Regions from separate parts of the Homo sapiens genome. Here region 2 is linked to region 1. Evidence: promoter capture Hi-C in 16 types of primary human blood cells and fetal thymus (Javierre and others, 2016). All regions are on one chromosome and are shown on one strand. Each heading gives the region's core, a stretch centred on a gene start or on the middle of the fragment in contact. The rest is flanking DNA. Distances are from core to core; before and after follow the strand shown.

Region 1 (6,942 bases), core at 2,245-4,744:
GGAGTCCAATATAGGCTTGCCCTATTCAGAATCCTACTACTTCTAGCTCAGAGCCTTAAACAGAGGAAGTACAAGTGTTTTGTGAAAGTTTTAACATGCATCTTTCTCTTTAAGTATGTACACAAATACATATCAGAAATATATCATTATTCTGATGTCCTCCAAATCACATTTTTAGTTTTTTAACTTTTAACCGATTTTTAAACTAATTTAAAAGTCAAGATTATTCATACATATAAAGTGTAGGGATAAATGGCAACATGTTTATTTCAAATAAAAAACTATTATTTAGCAATGGAAGTCTGAAGCTGAAAAACAAAGACTTCTCCACCACAGTGAAATAAGTTGTCAGACTGGATGAAATGTCCAGATCTTTTGTAAATGCTAAGATGTGACAGCTCATTATATGGAAATTTCTATCAGTTGGTGATCTAATAGAATAAAATCATATCCAGAAAACTACCAAGAACCTGAATATAAGATTATTATCAAAATGAGTGAAAATTTTACAATGAGAGCGCCCATCTGCAGTCTTTTGAATGAATAAAAGTGAACCATCAAAAACTTTTCTAGGGACATGTGTTTACAGCATAGTATAAGACTATACTTCATAGTAGAATCAAGTTAACATAATTTATTCAAAATGAGTCATCTTTTCTACAAAATAAAGGTGTTACGTGAGTTCAAATACAGATTTTATGAGTCACAATTATAATAAAAAAGATGAATCACTGTACAAAGATCAAAAAGATATAAGGTTACCAATAAAAAGATAATATATTGAATAAATACTATGTGACAGAAATTTACTGCCCTTTGAAGATGAGAATGGAAGCATTTAAAAGTCCATATTAGACAAGTATAAAGAGATATGAAATTTCATGTAGGCTGCACTGGCAAAGATTAGAATATATTAAGATTGTACATTAAAGTTAATGCATTAATTTATATTACTTTAATTCCTATAAAGATTTTGTTAGACAACAACCTGTATTATGTATGGAAGTAACCCATTAATGTACTTTCATAGTCTTCAAGGAGATCTATAGTTGATTATAGAAAACTTAAGAATACAGCTTGGGGATAAAGCAGGCAAATCCTCAACCAAAGCAAAGTATCACATTTTCTAGAGAAAATAACTTATAGAAAAATAAGTCTTAATGTTTGGTTCATATTCTCATTTCAATTCAGCAGAATTACATAAGCTTCAAGTGCAATTAAGAATAATTAGTCTTTTAAGAAAACCACATAATGTCACAAATTAATTTTAAAACTGTCCTAATACATCTAACTATTCATTCAACAAATTCATTATTAGTAATATGAACTCTATGCATTTTGCCCTACAGAACTTGGAAGAGTAAACCACTCACTCGAAAATCTCTATTAGTCTGCTATTAATATAGACTATTTAAATATATATTTTCAGTAAAAACTTTACTAAATTAATACAAAAATCCAAGCTAAAAATAAATAATTGTTTAGCTTGGTAAGATGGACCATCCAGAGGCAAGCAAAAAGGTTAAAATTAGTAAATTTTGTGATCTTAAGTAAAAAATTATTTTTAACATTCAGTTTTATGTTTCCTACTGAGGAGATCTAATAATACAACGATACTTAGGGATGACACAGGATGAAGTTAGGCATGTTACAACATACATTCTAAATATCCTTTAAAGTGGTTGCAAAAGAAAATACTGATTTCTCTGGGGGCAATTTTATAAGTATGGAACTCTAATTTTCACTCTTAACACTTCTCAAAATATAGAGTATTATGAAAACAGTTTGTATTTAATTGATGAAACAATCATATTTTTGACACTTGTATAGGAGGTCCCTTCACTGTGTCATGGTAAAGTAACCAAATATTTACTGTGAACATTTTTGACAGGTGACATAAGTAAATTGTAATCACTTCTTTACTTGTACAGTACTTGAATGTTTAAAATTTTCTAATGAGTTTGAAAAATTCAGTATGCAAAATATTTCAAAAGAAATGTTTAAATCATTGCTCAGTATTTTTTAAAAATATTCCATCTTCTGTTAACAGGTGAGAATAAACTTTTTTCATCTTGACATTATAAAATAAATAAACTTAAGTTCCAACGTCGCCATAAAAAGTTCTCTAACTTTTAAACCATTTAAACGTCTTGGGTCTTAAGAATGGAATGTTAATAACAAAACACCCCAAGTCTTTAAAAAATGTTTTTGGTAAGTACTTGGCAAACAACTGAATTTAAAAGTTATATCTTTAAGCAGACTCCATTAATAACTGCGTCATTTCATAAAACCGTTTAACTTACAGTAATGTTCTTTGTAAGACACAACATACTACGATTTTTAAAAATAGTAACTTCTTAAAAGACTGATTCTCCATCTACTCAAGGCTTTAAAAATAATTTTCACAAATCAGACAAATGTTCTATTTTCATAGGAATTTACCATTATCTTTGACACAAATGCCTGCTTTGTCCACTTGCGCTAGTACCAGCCCCAAAACAAACTTTTACGGCTAGAAAATGGTCTATGTAAGATAGAAAATATTTCCTTTTAAAAGGCAGGTAAACAAGCATACTTTTAAATTGTTTCTCATTTAAAACTTGAATTTTACACCATGAAACGAAACAGTGACTTGATCGAAGAAGCCCATTTCAATTTAAAACCAATTTTACTATGACATTTCTGCAAAAGCGATTTATCAGCCAGTTAAACTAGTTAATAGTTAAATAACGACAGTTCTAACGCCAACAGCATTTTACGCTAGAAGTATTTTAAATGAATTCCTTTTACTTTTCTCCCCATTTGAAAGGATTATAGATGCGCAAAACAGCCCGAAGGAAAAAAGAAATAAACAAAACCAAGTAACTCATAAGAACAAATTACTCCCTCCCCCACCAAAAAAAGCTAATAAGCGCGCGCTTTTCTATAAATCTCAGGCCTACTGACCAACCAATTCCCATAAAGAGTAAGTTGGAGGAAAAAGGACCCTGAACGCTAAGCGCCTCCTAAACTCGCAGTGAAGCTTTTCCACATTCATTCTCTCCAAGCCTGCCTCTCTCGGAGCCGGGTTTTCACTTAGGCCAACCTCACCCACTCTTGGGGAGGACAGCTGCAAGGTAAACGACTCTGCAACCGGTACCGCCGTCCTCCTCACTCCGACCGAGGAGGCTGGGCCCGGGCTCCTTCCACACCTCGGCTTCGGGACCGCATCCCACACCTCTGCAGGCCTAGCTGCCCCCGGCCTCTGCTAGAGAAAAAGAATGGCGAGGAGGGACCGGATGGTTTCCATATTCCCAGTCCCTCAGGCCACCTCTCACCTGTCCAACCAGGGTGTGTAGGGAGCGAAAGATTTCGTAGAGCACCTCTCGGGAGAGGTTGGGTCTGCATCTTCGCTCCAGGTTCCTGTCACCGCTGCTCGGGCGATTAAGCTCCGTGGCAGCAGCCATGATATCTTCTCAGGCCGCCCCACCACCACCACCACCAAGATTTGCTCACAACCCCGCCCCCTCCCTTCCAGCTTTAGTCGCTTGGCGATGACGTAAGACACGGAGTCTGGTTTAGATCGGGCTTTGAGGCCCCACCCTCTCTATGTGAATGACAAGCACGTTACACCAATCAGTTGCAGCTGTGACATTGCGCCGAGGCTCTGAAGTGGGTAATTGCAGACCACAGCTAGGCTGGAATGCTGTGTTTGGGGTGGTCATTAGAGTCGTGGTCTCTTTAGCGTTATGAAGCCTACCTTGACTCCTAGGTGTTCATTGTGAATCTTGGTAAGAGGAGACATAGTTAAATTTTGTAGTTTGAGTCCAAAAAGTAAAAGTTGACATTTTAACATGGCGGTGTGGAGTGGGTCTGGAGGAAGCTTGCTGGTCAGGGATGGAGTGGTGCCCACACGTGTTTCTAAACATTGGAAAACTCACACGGAATTATCATGATTGGATAGAACATTTTCATCTCTTCAAGTTTGTTGTTGTTGTTTTGGAGACAGAGTCTCACTCTGTCGCCCAGACTGGAGTGCAGTGGCACTACCTCGGCTCACTGCAACCTCCGCCTCCCAGGTTCAAGCGGTTCTCCTGCCTCAGCCTCCTGAGTAACTGGGACTACAGTTGATATTCTCTGTTTTAACTGTAGAGACGCTTAACCCTAAAATTGTTTCAAAGAAATGAAACACTGTCAATATAATTCCAACAGGAATTTAACCTGGATAAATAATATCATGCAACCACAATCTTTGAAATTAGGACATAAAACCGAATTCAAATTTTACAAAGTATTATTTATCATAATAGCTTTATTATAACGATGTTTGTGGGGTTTTGTAATCTTTTAGTCAGACTCCGATATTTTTAAAAAGTGTTATCCAATTAAAGTATTACAATAATTTTTAGTGTTAAGCTTTATTCAAAAACACTTTAAGAAATCAACATCAGCTTAGAGATAAGGAAGGTGGGATTTAAAACTCGTAATTCTGTTAATAGTCTAATGCATTTACAGTAGAGAAAGCAAAGGTGGAAACTTGCACAATGTGTATTCTTTAGTTTTAGGGTAGACTAAATTAAAGGGAAGGACTAATGCATCAAGGAACTAAGATAAGGACGATGGGGATAAAAACTCCTTTGACCTGTCCCTAGGGAGTCTCTTAATTAGGCTTTCATTTCCAAAGACAAATGGGATCACCAGGCTTGACAGAATCTTGGGAAATCTTTTCTGTTCCCTTGTTGGCAGCAAGATATACAACTGACATTCCAGCCTATTTCTACAGGCAGAAAAATACTTCACAATGTCCAGTCTCAAATTGAGCAACCTTCTTATTCAAGCATGGTAATGGGGTAACTGTAAGTTTTTGTTTTGTACCAAATTAGCAATCAGTTTCAGATCATTTGTTTTCATTGAGGTGTTTCATATTTTTTCAAATATGGAGAACACTGATATGCAACACATTTGGGAATATGCTTTGTATATTTAAAAAATGTTGTCTTTAACAAGGTGCTGCTATTCCTTTCTTTGCCATCATTGATTTTGAATTTTCAAGTTTTACTTGTTCTTTTGAGCCTCTAATACAGAATTAACTGATGGCCATTTGATCTGTGTATTGCTTCTCCATGTAATTCTGTGATTTGATATCCAGACCTGCACTTGTATCTTAGTATTCTTTACTTAGGTACAGGTTGAGCATTCCTAATCTGAAAATTCAAAATCCAAAATGATCCAAAATTTGAAACTTTTTGAGTGCCAGTACCACAAGTGGAAAATTTCACACCTGATCCGACATAACAGGTCACAGTTAAAATGTAGTCAAAACTTTGTTTCATGCACAGAATTATTTAAAACATTATATAAAATTACCTTCAAGTTATGTGTATAAAGTATACATGAAACATAAATGAATTTTGTGTTTAGATTTGGGTCCCATCCCCAAGATAGCTTATTATATATATGCAAATATTCCAAAATCTAAAAAAAATCCGAAATCTGAGACACTTCTGGTCCCAAGTAGTTCAGATAAGGGATACTCAACCAGTAGTACTTAAAATTTGTTAACTCTTTTGTGCATTCTTTCTTCTTTCTAAGGACCTTTCTTACTCTTCTTGATGCCTATTACCTTCATTTTGGAAATTTTTCTCATTTTCTTATTTTATAATAGAAAATTCTATTTTAAATAGAAGAGTTTGTAGCCTGAAAAGATTTGGATTCCTTTGGGCCAACTCAAAATAGAAATTTGTAGATATTGTATGTGTGTATGTATGTATAACAAAAGTATAATATGCGCTATGAAATTTAGAAAGGGAATAAAGGGAATAATTTGCTCTTTATGGAAAACTAATTACAGTTTATAAAGTGGGTTGCTGAAAAATCTGCTGCCTGGCAGAAATGATTCAAAGTGTTGGTGTTCGCGTTAGCAACAGAGTTAGAAATACTGTCCAGCAGGCTTATGCCAAGAATCAATTGGGAGGATAGAGACTATAAATGAAATCTAGGCTATTTACCTTATCAACAAAAATGTCTTTTATGGTGAGCTTTAATGGCATAACTCTATTGAATAACCCAGTTCCCAGCAAAATACCTGAGGTATTAGAAGGGCTCAACTGATGTTTGTTGCATATATGATAATACAGATTTTATTTCAATGCAGAAAAAGTAAAATAAATGGTATTTGTCGTCCCTGTCTCCCCATCACCTGCTGCATAAGTCCAAGTTCTTTAGAATGACATGAAGGCTCTTATGATGTGGCCTTTGCCTAAATTTCCAGCCTCATTTTCTGCCACAAACCATCTGGTGCTTAGTGCTTCTGAAACTGCTTTTATGTCTTCAACACTTTACTATTTCTTGCCTCCATGCTTTGATTTTTACCCAGTGCCTGTTGTCTGCTTGAGAAACTCCTTTTCCATTTTCAAACTCCAGTTAGAAAATCTTTGGGGAATCCCCCCTCATAAAGAGCTTATTTTCTCCTCTGCTAAACTACTCCTACAACTTGTATATACTTCTATTATTGTAGTTATCACAGTGATACTTGAATTTATTTGACTATATCTGTCTCCTTATTGAACTATAAGCATTTATATGTTGGTGTACATAAGGCTTAGCATAGTTTCTGGCACAGAGTTAATTGCTCAGTATATGCCTGTTGAGCTGAATTTATTTGCCTTCATAAGTGAACAGATTTATAAAATGGAAAAAAGTAAACAAGTGCCTATTGTTGAAGGAAAATTGTAACATATAGACTGCTATAAACAATTTATTTTAAATAACGAAACAAGTCTGTTTATTCTCTTTTGTGGCAGCAAATTCAAAGTGTTCTAAGTTTTCTTAAGGGAGTAAATATAGCTAGCCTTCATAACCATTCTCAATAATTTTACACATACAAATTAATTGTACCTACTATATACCAGGCACTCTAATTGACATTGAGCTACAAAGATGAATCAGACAAGGACTGTTCCT
Region 2 (6,942 bases), core at 141-2,640, about 52 Mb after region 1:
AACTGGGCTTAATAAACCTAATGGAAACAAAGACTTCCATTTTTCGGTAAGCTCTTACCCTAGATATAGTATCACAAGTAAAGCTATAAAAAAGATGGGGCCTCACTCCATGAAATATTGGCTGTTTCAGGTTTAGCCCAAAAACATAAAAAGGAGAATAGTAGTAGCAAAGAATAAATGCATTAACTCATCGGCCCACAGGTTTCCCCTGAAATACACATCAGCACGGCTGGAGAGATTGCAAATTAGGGAATGAAAACATAAAAATCAAAAAGGATCAGCTAACTCCAGGGGGAAAAAAATTTCCCCTAGCAGAAGGTTATATCTTGTGGTCACACTACAGACCAGGTCATCCTTGCAGCAGGCATTCAAGCTTGTTCTGAGTTGAATGTAAGGATGCAAGCTCCATCCAACTCAACCCCAAAAATCCGAGTTCAACCTTAACATTTTCAAGAAACATTAGCCCTAGATGTAATTTCGGATACAAAACCAAAAAACAAAAACCTTCTCACCCAAAGGTCGGCCACCATGAAGCCCATGGGCCCAGAGGGAGTACCCGGTAGTTTCAGGCCGCTCGCTTATCTTCCTTTTAAAGAGACCTTGAGGCACCAGTCCTGCCTCCAAACGAAATCCTATTCGGCGCTACCCTCTCTGGAGGAGCCCATTCTTACCCTGCACTAACAACTGCACGGGACTTAACGACTCCACCACCCACCAACTCCTCCAAAAGGGAGAGACACAGCCAAAGCATCCCACTGGGGCGTTCTCTTTCGCACACGGACGCTCCCGCACTCCCTGGCCCTTTCTGGAGCGACGCTCCCCGACTGCCATCTCCGCGATGAAGACAGCCTGTGCCCCACTGCCTGGGACGAGGGTTCCAGCCCCGGCTACTTCACTACTTAGACCTGTCACTTTACTCTCTGCACCTATACTCTCTGGACCTCCGGATCCTCATTTGTTCAAACCTAACTGCCTGTCTGGTTCGTGTTAAACGAGAAAGCACCCGCCCCAGCCCCGCAGCGGGCCCGCCCCAACCGCCTGCTGACTGGCACCCTAGGGGAATGCGGCGGAGAGTGGAGCCGGTGGAAACGCAGGGCAACGCCGCGGGGGCTTGTGGGGCTGGCCCCACGGGGCGGGCTCTTGCCGCCCCCCGCGTATCCCCGCAGCTTGCCGCTCACCCCGCCGCCGCTGACCGCGCCGATGCCGTCGAACTCCCGGCCCAGCCCGTCGGAGTCGTCGAGCACGTACGCGCCGCCGGGCGCCAGCAGCGCACACAGCAGCAAGGGCACCGCGGCGCGGCCCGCCGAACCCGCGGCCGCAGTCATAGCTTTCGCTCGGCGTTGCCAGGAAGCCGAGAGTAGCCACTCAGCCATTGTGTGGGTCACATGACTCCGGCGCCCAGGGAGGCGGGTCCCGTCGCCGCCACGATAGATACGGGCAGGAGGCCGCTGATGCTGACGCCGCCGCCGCCATTTTGAGTGCGGGTCAAGGGCCTCTGACGCAGCTGGCGGAGTGTTGAGAAAAGAAGCAGCGAGCTTTTTCTTATCGCTCGCGTGTCTGTGGTCAGCTACTGGATTTCACATGTACTTACTGCTGGCTTCTCTTCCGGCGTCACCTGGTGGAGCACTTTAACGCAGGGAAGGTGGATTCCAAGGTCCGCCAAAGGAAGAGGGCCATGAGTGGCCCTACCATGGCTCTTCCCCAGCATCTCAGGGAGTATCTACCTCGTGCGAGGACCAGGCTTGGACACCAGGTCCCGATTCCATTGTCATCTTGGTGGAATCACTTTGCTTTTGGAGCCTGAGTTTTCCCTTATGTGAGATGAGGCGAGAAGAGCAGCAGAGTGAGGGACTGAGAGAAAAGTTAATAAGCACTCAGTACATTTGAATGCATTCCACAAGTGGCAAATAGCTGAGAAGGTTCTCCAGTCTGGTAACTACCCCGGCATATTCAAAGCTTTTAGCCTTGAAGGAGTTAATAATATACCACCTCAAAATATGCTGCTGTGGCATATTGACTATTTTAAATTAAAGGCACTTAAAAACAGCAGGTGCAAGATCACTGTCATGGATATTATGTGTCTTAAAAGGAGGAGATGAAATTCCCATGTGAAAGATGTCTTCCCTATAAAATAACATTGTTATCTTCAAGGACAGAAAGTTGAAGTCGAGGGAAATCTGTCCAAACAAAATTTGTTAATCCCTATCTTTCTAGTCGCTTCTTTACCCCAAGCCCCTTCGCCTTATCATGTTTCACAACTACTATTTTTTGTCCATTTCACTCTATAAGCAATTGGCTCTTAACTGCTGCTTTAGGTCTTTTTTTTTTTTAATGAGGGCCCCCGTGCTATGTAAAATAAACATTTGTGTGGTTGTCTCCTGTCAGTCTATTAATATCTTAAATCAATTTAATACTAGGGCCATGCTGGGACCCTACAGGGACGAAGGTGAAATTTTGCCTCCCCTACAATTTTATAAACTATCTTCCACTGTCAGTTGAAGTGATTCCAGACAGGTAACTCTAAATTGGTAGGAAAGTTGTGAATTGCCCTGAATTTCTGCCACATCCAGCACTGTCCTGAGATTTCTGATTTCCTTGTTATTGAAGTAAATTAAAGAGACTCTGAAGAGCTGCAGAGAAAGATTTTCTGATCCCCAAATTTCTCTTAGCAGAAGTATGGAACTGGTTATCATTGCCTACACAAGCCCCTGAGATACCACAATGGCAAGGAAAAGACCCAGAGACTTTAGGACCTGTGGGATTTGTCTGCAGAACCCTATTTGGAATCTGATTATTTTGCCCCTTAACCACAAACCTAAATCTAAGTTTCAAGAACTCAATTATACTTGAAGGTCAAAGCTCTGGGCAATCCAATAAATATGCACATTAAGAACCCGATATCCCTGGGTTCTTAATGTACATTAGATATGTTTGTTCTTTCTTTCTTTTTGAATTGACTCTACGTCTATCCTGGTTTACTAAGGACAGTCACAACTTTTGTCTAAACATAATTACTGATAATGCTCCTTTCACCCTCAGTAGTCTTCTGGCTTGGATCAGTTAAATAGTCCCCTGTGTATGAACCACTTATTTTCTTTGGTTTCTTCTTTCCCCAGTACAACACGAATCTGAACTCTCTGCCTTGCCACTGCAACCAGTTTATGATGCAAGTCAGTAATTTTCAGTTCTGTGGATTTACTGTTACAGAATTCACTCTGATCCATTTGTTCTAACACAGTATTTTAAGCATGAGCTGGAGCTCCTGTGGATACAAGCCACAGTAACCATTCCATCAAGTGAATGTTAAGCTTCTCTTACCAGCTCTTAACAAGCGCATAAGACCCACTTAATACCGTGACTAGATGGGAAATACCAAGGTGATGACAGAGGAAACTACCTTACACATAAAACTAGGAAGTTGCATGACGATGTATGAATACCCAGCATACACCATCCTGTAGTACGTCATTGTGAAACGGGTCAGTGGTCAGTGGTCTCGTTGTCTGAGGTGTTATCCAAGCTTGTTGTCTCACAACCAAGAGAATTAAGGAGTGTGGACACCAGAGTGAGGTTGAAGAGAAAGTTTATTATATGAAAGAAGAAAGCTTTCTTTCTTTGCCATTTTGCCACTTTTACAGTTGAATCCAAAAGCTTTTATAAGAAACTCCTCTCATCTCTGTAGCTGTTTGTGTAACTTACTTGTAAAGCTATCTGTGCAGCTCCCCTTATCTGTGCAGCTGTGGGTATGTCTTGGGTAAGGATAAAGTTCAGCTTCTCTTGTTTGTGTAACTGTGGGTTCTAGGTAATCACCCTCTCCACCCCCATGCAAGTTCCCACAGAGCCCACCATGTATGTGCCTGAAAAGGGGAAGAAACTTTTTCCTGGGAACCTGCTAATCACACAAAGAACAAAAGGCTTCTATGTTGGGCCTTCCTTTCTTATCAGGGCAGCTGTTGCCTGAGTTTTCCCCAGGCCACTCTATGTGTGCCTGTAGCTTGATTTTTCAGGCTGTCTTTCTGTTTAAAAGAATTTTACCAAAGACCAACTTTAGCTGTCTGCCCAACTAAGTTTTCCCTTTTCTCGTCCCTCAATTGCACCTTGTAGTTGGAATGCACGCCACAAATATTTGAGCAATGTGTGAAGTCTACAAAAGAGGAAGCATAAACTCTAATGGAAAAGGTAGCCTCACTTCCAGGAAGTCCCAGTAGTTCCTATTAGTTCAGTTACCAAAGAAATTGCTTACCAGATAAATATTTTTTGTTTCTAATTTCTGATCTATATTCATGAGAGCAGACATGAGGTAAGAAAGTTTCTAATAAAAGGCCAATAAATACATGCTGACAGAAATCCTTGGAGTGCTGGGCACGGCACTCAAATGTGCTCAAGATGTGAGATAAAGAAAAATGACAGTTACCCCACGAGTGATCATATGCTTAGCTTCCCTTGCGTCTGTGGATCAGGGTCAGTGAGATAAGACGGTAAGAAAGGAAGGTCCCAGTTTTCAGATTTTAAATGAGTTTAAAAAGTAATGACAGTGTTTCTCTCTCTGTCTTTTTAATCTGAAACACTTCAAGAATTTGCATGTCATCCTTGCTCAGAGGCCACACTGATCTCTGTAACATTCCAGTGTTTGTAAATGTGCTGCCAAAGGAAACACGATGATTTTTCTCTTAAATAACAGGTGTTTCTAAGTATCACAACTATACTTCAGCCACCCCAAATCTCTCCTTTTTCTAAATAAAATAATGTGATCAAAATCAAATAGTCTCTTGAGAAGGATCAGAGATCTTGCCTTTTAATGAAAATTTATTGATAAACTCTAATAGCAGTCTGGATTTTTTTTTTTATTTCCCCAAGACTATCATAAAACGGTATGATAGCAGTCTGTTGTCTCACTTCAGGAAAAGGCTTTACTTTTATAAATCAGTCCACCTCCCCTTCAGTCTACCATTGATGGGCATTTAGGTTGATTCCATGTTTTTGCTATTAGGCTGTCAGAAATTCCAGGGCAGAGGCCAAGTTTATTTCTTCTTTGTATGTCTTAAGCACAGTGCCCAAACTGTGCTAAGTACTCAATAAATATTAGTTGAATTGAACTAAAAGACAAATCACTGAATGGTCACATAAGGGGATACGAATAAAGAATTATTTACAAAAGGAGTTGGAAACGTTTCTTAAAGTAGGAATCCCCTGGGACATAAGAGTGTGGAGTGTTTTCTTGAACTGTCCTGTAACATCTGCTATATTTTTTACCTTTTATTTTAGGTTCAGGGTGCATGTGCAGGTTTGTTACAAAGGTAAATTGCATGTCCTAGGGTTGATGTACAGATTATTTCATTACCCAGGTAATAAGCATAGTACTCAATAGGTAGTTTTTTGATCCTTCCCCATCCCCCATCCTCCACCCTTAAGTCGGCCCCAGTGCCTGTTGTTTTGTTGTTGTTTGTGTCCATATGTACTCGATGTTCAGCTCCGTCTTATAAGTGAGAATATGCAGTATTTGGTTTTCTATTCCTGTGTTAGTCTTCTTAGGGTAATGGCCTCCAGCTCCATTCATGTTGCTACAAAGAACATGATCTCATTCTTTTTTTTTTTTTTTTTTTTTTTTTTGAGACAGAGTCTTGCTCTGTCATCCAGGCTAGAGTGCAGTGGTGCGATCTCGGCTCACTGCAATCTCTGCCTCCCAGGTTCAAGCGATTCTCCTGACTCAGCCTCCTGAGTAGCTGGGATTACAGGGTGTGCCACCACACCTGGCTAATTTTTGTATTTTTAATAGAGACGGGGTTTCACCATGTTGGTCAGGCTGGTCTCGAACTCCTGACCTCGTGATCTGCCCGCCTCGGCTTTCCAAAGTGCTGGGATTACAGGCCTGAGCCACAGCACCTGGCCTGTCATTCTTTTTTATAGCTGCATGGTATTCCAGGTTGTATATGTAACACATTTTCTTTATCCATTAATAGACCACTGATGGAGATTTAGGTTGATTCCATGGCTTTGCTATTGCAAATAGTGCTGAAATGACCATCCACTTGCATGTGTCTTTATGGGAGAATGACTTATATTCCTTTCAGTATATATCCAACATCTGCCATTTGTCTGGTCTTTCAACTCTGGACGTGTTTCTTGATGGCAACTGTTAGTTATACTGCCCTACTGAGTGACTTCTCTCTAAAATATGTTATAAGGCTCTATTCATTCAAGATTTTATATAAACAAAATGAAAATAAGTCAAAGGACAGAATCCACCTAATGAAATAAATTATAAATTGCTTACTGAACATTTTCTTAAGTATAACTACAAATAAAAACTTCTATAGCAAAGAGCAGTGTAGTATAGTAGTTAGAATACTGGCTCTGGAGCCCCAGGTCTCCTGGCTTCAAATCTTTCTCCTATTGCTTAGCAGCAGTGTAATTTTGGTTAAGTTATGTAACTTCTTTGGGCTTCAGTTTACCCATCCATAAAATAGAGATAATGATGGCAATACATTAATGTGAACATTGGACAAGCTAATATTTTTATAGCACTTAGAAGAGTGACCCACACATCCTATGTGTTATATAAGTGCTTATTATATAAATAATAACATAAATGACATACCTATATAACTATCGTACAACTTTTGAGTTTACTGCTTTCCCCACAATTAATTCTGCAAAAACAGATTATTCCTGTCTTTGTATTGGTCTCAGTTTTTCTTTTTGCTGGGTTGTTGTCCACAGTCATCCAAATCTATGTTGTGTGTGGCTGATTCCTCATAGTGAGAGTCTTGGTGTGAAAGAGAATTCTGCCTCCTTCAGAAGTTAAGGAGCCAGATCCTCTCTCTTACTGTCCTTATCAGTACAGGCTCTGACAATGACCAGGCTTTCTCAATCAGTTTCTTGAACCTGCAAATTTGACCTTGGAAGAGTAACTAGATGTATGCACAGTTGAGAAATCCCACA

Evidence for each region. Contacts are between HindIII fragments. The CHiCAGO score rates a contact against its expected background, and 5 or more counts as called.
Region 2: the fragment with the promoter of GALC here is called in contact with the fragment with the promoter of MBIP in region 1 in 3 of 17 cell types (total CD4 T cells, activated CD4 T cells and fetal thymus); the score reaches 8.0 in total CD4 T cells.

Annotation. Positions count from the first base shown.
Region 1 is chr14:36,317,143-36,324,084 of GRCh38, forward strand. It overlaps MBIP (MAP3K12 binding inhibitory protein 1), which reads right to left and starts at 3,495. Exons shown (of 9, transcript NM_016586.3): 1 at 3,318-3,495. The coding sequence starts at 3,446. RefSeq lists enhancers at 3,184-3,443, 3,844-3,893. The HindIII fragment of the contact is 840 bases long and covers 3,021-3,860 here.
Region 2 is chr14:87,991,792-87,998,733 of GRCh38, forward strand. It overlaps GALC (galactosylceramidase), which reads right to left and starts at 1,391. Exons shown (of 17, transcript NM_000153.4): 1 at 1,179-1,391. The coding sequence starts at 1,373. It also overlaps the pseudogene RNU6-835P. RefSeq lists a silencer at 1,059-1,248 and enhancers at 1,204-1,704, 1,399-1,728. The HindIII fragment of the contact is 1,583 bases long and covers 372-1,954 here.